Regions from separate parts of the Homo sapiens genome. Here region 1 is linked to region 2. The links are contacts of gene promoters, found by promoter capture Hi-C in blood cells and fetal thymus (Javierre and others, 2016). All regions are on one chromosome and are shown on one strand. Each heading gives the region's core, a stretch centred on a gene start or on the middle of the fragment in contact. The rest is flanking DNA. Distances are from core to core; before and after follow the strand shown.

Region 1 (2,700 bases), core at 73-2,572, 440 kb after region 2:
TCTCAAAAGAAGACATTTATGTGGCCAACAAACACATGGAAAAAAGCTCAACATCACTGATCATTAGAGAAATGCAAATCAAAATCACAATGAGATACCATCTCACACCAGTCATAACGGCAATTAATACAAAGTTAAGAAACAAGAGATGCTGGCAAAGTTGCAGAGAAATGGGAACGCTTTTACATTGGTGGGAATGTAAATTAGTTCAACCATTGTGGAAGACGGTGTGGCAATTCCTCAAATATCTAGAACCAGAAATACCATTTGACCCAGCAATCCCATTACTGGGTATATACCCAAAGGAATATAAATCATTCTATTACAAAGATACACGCACACGTATATTCATTGCCGCACTATTCACAATAGCAAAGACGTGGCATCAACCCAAATGCCCATCAGTGATAACATTAAGAAAATGTGGTGCATATACACCATGAAATACCATGCAGCCATAATAAAGAATGAGATCATGTCCTTTGTAGGGACATGGATCGAGCTGGAAGCCATTATCCTCAGCAAACTAATGCAGCAACAGAAAACAAATACTGCATGTTCTCCCTTATAAGTGGAAGCTGAACAATGAGAACACATGTACACAGGGAGGGGAAAAACACGCACTGGGACCTGTCAGGGGTTGTGGGGGGCGGTGAGGGAAAGCCTTAGGAAAAATAGCTAATGCATGCCAGGCTTAATACCTAGGTCATAGGTTGATTGGTGCAGCAAGCCACCACGGCACACGTTTGCCTATTTAACAAACACGCACATCCTGCACATGTATCCTAGAACTTAAAAAAAAAAAAAAGAAAATGAAAATTAAGGGCTGGGAGGGAGGACTCGAAGGAACACAAAGTTTGTGGAATCGATTAGTATGTATCCTCCTATCTCAGTCTTGACTCTCTTTGCTGACTTTCCTACCCTGGGCCCCACCCCGAGACCGCCCATTTCAGTGGGCCTCTGTGTTTGGAGAACGAACTTCGAAAGACTGGAACACTTCCGCCTGTCAGGCCAGAAGAGATTTCCTGACACCACAGCTGGAAACCCATGTGCATTTCAGTTCAGGAAAGAATGGTAGGCTTGGTGGGGGGAGCTCCCGCAAAAGGGGAACTAATACAGAAACACTCTGGTATTTGTCTGCCTCTCTTGTTCCAGCGCCGTTTTCCCTATATCCGGAATTCGTCCCTGCGCATTCCAATACCTGAAGCGGCCACAGGGTACAGGACAGGGAGCCCTCCGACAGAAAAGAGTCGCGGCGCTAAACAAAGCCTGATATCACTCCGCTTCCATAAGCCGGATCCCCATAAACTACGCTCTAGCTCCTCCCACTGCCGTTGTGGGTAACGCGGACGTGGAAGAACCTCGTCTGCGGAGGAAAAGGTAGATGTTAAATGGTAACTACGCGCGAGGTTCTGAGGAGCCCTGGGAACAGGAAGGAGAAAAGAATACCAAAAGTGACAACAGTTTGCCAATCGCAGTCTTTAATCTGATAAAGCGGTTATCTCGTCTTGAGTCCCAGGTGCCGAGTCAATCCCCATACACAGCCGCCGCCATTGCCTCGAGTCCTTGTGTCTGACTGTCTGTTCCTGCTGCTGTATGACACAGCACCTCGAGGCAAGGAAATAAGAAAACTGCCTCTGATCCAAGCAGAGAAGGTCAGTGAGAAGGTGCGCATCGCTTGGGGGTGGATGTGGGTATCAGAGGTGAACACTGGATACGCGACCTGGTCATGGGAGGCGGGCGGTGAGAAGGAGAGAGAGATGGGTAATTGGAATGGCACACAACAATTAAAAAAAAATGATCTACCTTTTGCTAGCTTGATTTCCATACACTCGGTTCACCTCAGACCATGCTTGGGAAGAAAAAGGTTGCAGCTTCTAGCAGGGAAAAGGCAGACTAGATGAGGAAGAGAGGGCTACTTCCACAGGCGAGGACAGTTGTCTGGGGAGCCCTGAGAGGGAGAGAATGTAAAAAGAGGTTGTAAATGTTTGATAATCAAGGCTCTGGATTTGAAAAGGGTCTCATGTCTTGGTTACTGGTCTGACCATTAATAACCACGTCTCTCTCTCTGTCTTTTCATTTGTTCTTTGGGTGTGTATCACGCGTTTTTATGTGTAAATCTGTTCCTAAGTTTGCAGCACTCCATGTTTCTGTAAAGATCTGTAGGGGACAGCAGACCTCAAGGGGAGAGGAGAAGGAAAAGAAAATTGGCCTGGTTTGTACAGAGTGGGCAGTACTTGGGAGGCAGTACTTGGAGGTGGTAGATGGCTAAGATTAGAGTAGGCAGGAGTGTAAGGGAGCCTCCAGAACTCTCTGCCAGCTTTCCTAACATGTCCTCCCTTACCCGCATTATGTTGCAGAAAATGATAGGCTTTGGGAGAGAGGAAGGAAACATAGGAACCCAGATGAAATATGGAAATAAATACTTTTCATTTTTTCCCCAGCCTCCGTGGTTTGTCTAGGCATTTCGTCCCTACTAACACCACTACTACTACCTTGTAGGGATGTTTGAGTTGTCTCTGTATAGGAATTGTCAGACTTTGAGAATAGAGCAGAGGGGCTTGGAGATTTAGGAGTGGGAGAAAAAGGGGAGATAGAAAATGTTTGCCAAACAGGTACTTATATCCAGAAAGAAACTGTGCCCTAGGTGCTGGTCTCTACCAAAAACAGCCTCAACTGTCTCCTGTGTCTTCATTTATT
Region 2 (2,700 bases), core at 24-2,523:
TTGATACCCCTACACCAGAGGGCCCCAGGCAACCTCCTACCTTCAGGGATCAGAGGCAGTCTTTCTCTCTTAGCCTTGAAATCGGCTGCACAAACGCACTTAAAGACCTGCAGACAAATGTGACAATTACCAGGACTGATCTTTTAATCAAAGGACCGGTAATGGGAGTTGATTTAGGGTTCTCCTAGTATTAGCACCTTCTGTTTCTCCTCCATCCTGTCTCACGGCTTCTTTTCCCACCCTGTGACAGGCTATCCCACCTTCCAGAAATAGGCATCAAAGATGATTATTTCCAAAACGTTTTAACCTCTTCTTTAGGCGCCCATCTCTACTGTTTCCTCTTACCTGTCATCTAGTTACCCTTTCTGCAACGCAGGCAACTTGCCTGGCGGGGGAGTTAGAAGAGCTTGCTGAATGAATACGTAGTTTATTCACAAAGAATTTCAATCTAGATATCCATCAGGCCCTCTCTCCACCCGATCCCCACTCCCATGCCCACCATTTTATGCATCAAGATGGACGATGAGTGAAGAGGTATGTGGGCATTGAAAACTAGGACCTGCTGCGGTCTCTGCGCTTTGTCATTCTCACTCCAGGATCTACAGGTAGCGCCCACGCTTACACCGACCGACCTGCTGAGACCAAAAACAGTTTCTCGCTCCTCGCCTCTGTCCCTCAGTCAGAAGCTCGCCCGCTCAACTGCCGCAATAGGGACCTGCTTTCCAGACCTAATCTCTGTCCCCCTCCTCTGCAGCAATTCCTCTCCTCGGCCCCCGCAGCCTATCATTTCCAGCTCTAAATGGGTAGAGGGTGAAGAAAAGATACCTAGAAGGCAGGCCTAAAACCTTGGCAGGGTCCGCCCTCCCCAACCCTTGGTTGCCGGCTGTACCTCCCTCCCGCGGACCTGCAGGAAGCAGGCTGTTTCCTTTCAGTCTCCTCCACCGGCTGGACTCCATCAGACATTGCCCGATGGCCGGCCTCCTAGGAGATCTCAAATGGTACCCATTCTCAATCCAGCCCCCTCGGGAGATCCTCTCCCCAACCGCTCCATTTCTCGCACTAAACGGGTGTGTATCTGGAAAGGGTGTGTATCCAGTCCTAGACCCGCTCTGGTCTTTGCCCTCTGCTGCTCACACACCGGTCAGCGCCACCTACCTGCCAGGGCTCAGGGGTCAGCTTCTACCACTTTCCACCTTTCCTGGGCAGCTGGCTCGCCTGCCTTCAGGGCAACAGCGAGCCGTCACACGGCCAGCGACAACTACCAGACTGCAACTAGGAGGAGGGACTAATCCACGCATTGGCTCTGGGTCTCCTAAGGGTCACGTCACTGTGAGCTCAGATTTCCAATTACCATTCACACCCGCAGTGCGGCAGGAGGGTGGGGGCGGGACTGTGGGCGGGGCCACCTTTCTCTTCATTCGTGCTTTCTCCACCACTACCACAGGCTACTATCCACCCCTCTATTTTTTTATTTAGCGATCCCCACGACCAAACGGGTCATAATATTTTGTATTTGGCTTGCTCTGGTTTCTGCTGGAGCTTTTAAAAAATCGCTTCTTCCTCTTCTATACACCTAAACGCACACTTCTCTCCCCTTCACGTCCAGCAAGTAAAGCCCTAACAGTCTTGTAGGGCTTGGTCCCAGATTGGAACCCGGAGAAGGGGTGGGGAGCGAGAGGCTAGGAAGTCTGGAAAATAGGCAGGAAGTGGTATTCAAATTTTTTTTTCACTTCAACTACTTTCCTTTTTGTTTGTTTATTTGGGAAGGGGGTTCCTTTTATTTTTCATCAGCATGCATTCATTTTGTTGTTGTTTTTATAACTAGACAATACAATTATTTTCAGTTGAAAAAACAGGATTCGAGTTGTAAAAACATGGCAATCTGTTTCTCCTGCTGAATCATATTATAAATATAAACCTTCCAGAAAGCATTCCCCTGCCTCCTTTAAGGACTTTGAAATAAGGCCGGGAGCGGTGGCTCGTGCCTGTGATCCTAGCACTTTGGGAGGCCGAGGTGGGTGGATCACGGGGTCAGTAGTTCAAGACCAGCCTGGCCAAGATGGTGAAACCCCGTCTCTACTAAAAATACAAAAAGTAGCTGGGCGTGGTGGCAGGCGCCTGTAATCCCAGCTACTCGGGAGGCTGAGGCAGGAGAATTGCTTGAACCTGGGCGGCAGAGGTTGTAGTGAGCCGAGGTAGCACCATTGCACACCAAGCCTGGGCGATAGAGTGAGACTCTGTCAAGAAAGAAAGAAGGAAAGAAAGAAAGAAGGAAAGAAAGAAAGAAAGAGAAAGAAAGGAAGAAGAAAAGAAAAGAAAAGAGGAAGGAAAGAAGGAAAGAAGTGATTTTCTCGTGAAGGATCTCTACATGTCCTTCCGTGAAATGATGCATTGAGTCTAATAGAGCCTCTCTGGTGGATTTTCATGTCTTGAGAACCTGTGACAAACTGATGATCTCCTCTAAATTGTATTAGTGTAACCACAATTTACAATAACACCTAGCCCTGATGATTCAGGACAATAATTTGGGGAAGCTACCCTGACAGATGAAAATGTATTGTGATGGACACATAGAGGGGAACAACACTGGGGCCTACAGGAGGGTGGAGGATGGGAGGAGGGAGAGGATCAGTTTACCTATATAACAAAGCTGCACATGTATTCCTGAACTTAAAATAAAAGTTTAAAAAGTATTGTGAA

What was found. The method cuts DNA at HindIII sites, captures the fragments that hold promoters and counts their contacts. A CHiCAGO score of 5 or more calls a contact.
Region 1: a contact is called between the fragment with the promoter of ARMCX5 here and the fragment with the promoter of BEX5 in region 2, in 1 of 17 cell types (total CD4 T cells). The highest score is 5.9, in total CD4 T cells.

Annotation. Positions count from the first base shown.
Region 1 is chrX:102,598,193-102,600,892 of GRCh38, forward strand. It overlaps ARMCX5 (armadillo repeat containing X-linked 5), which reads left to right and starts at 1,323. Exons shown (of 4, transcript NM_001168478.2): 1 at 1,323-1,655. It overlaps ARMCX5-GPRASP2 (ARMCX5-GPRASP2 readthrough), which reads left to right and starts at 1,323. Exons shown (of 19, transcript NR_146584.3): 1 at 1,323-1,655. RefSeq lists enhancers at 1,369-2,140, 1,573-1,622. The HindIII fragment of the contact is 9,703 bases long and covers 1-2,700 here.
Region 2 is chrX:102,154,704-102,157,403 of GRCh38, forward strand. BEX5 (brain expressed X-linked 5) reads right to left here and starts at 1,274. Exons shown (of 3, transcript NM_001012978.3): 1 at 1,156-1,274; 2 at 41-107. RefSeq lists an enhancer at 1,091-1,230. The HindIII fragment of the contact is 12,891 bases long and covers 1-2,700 here.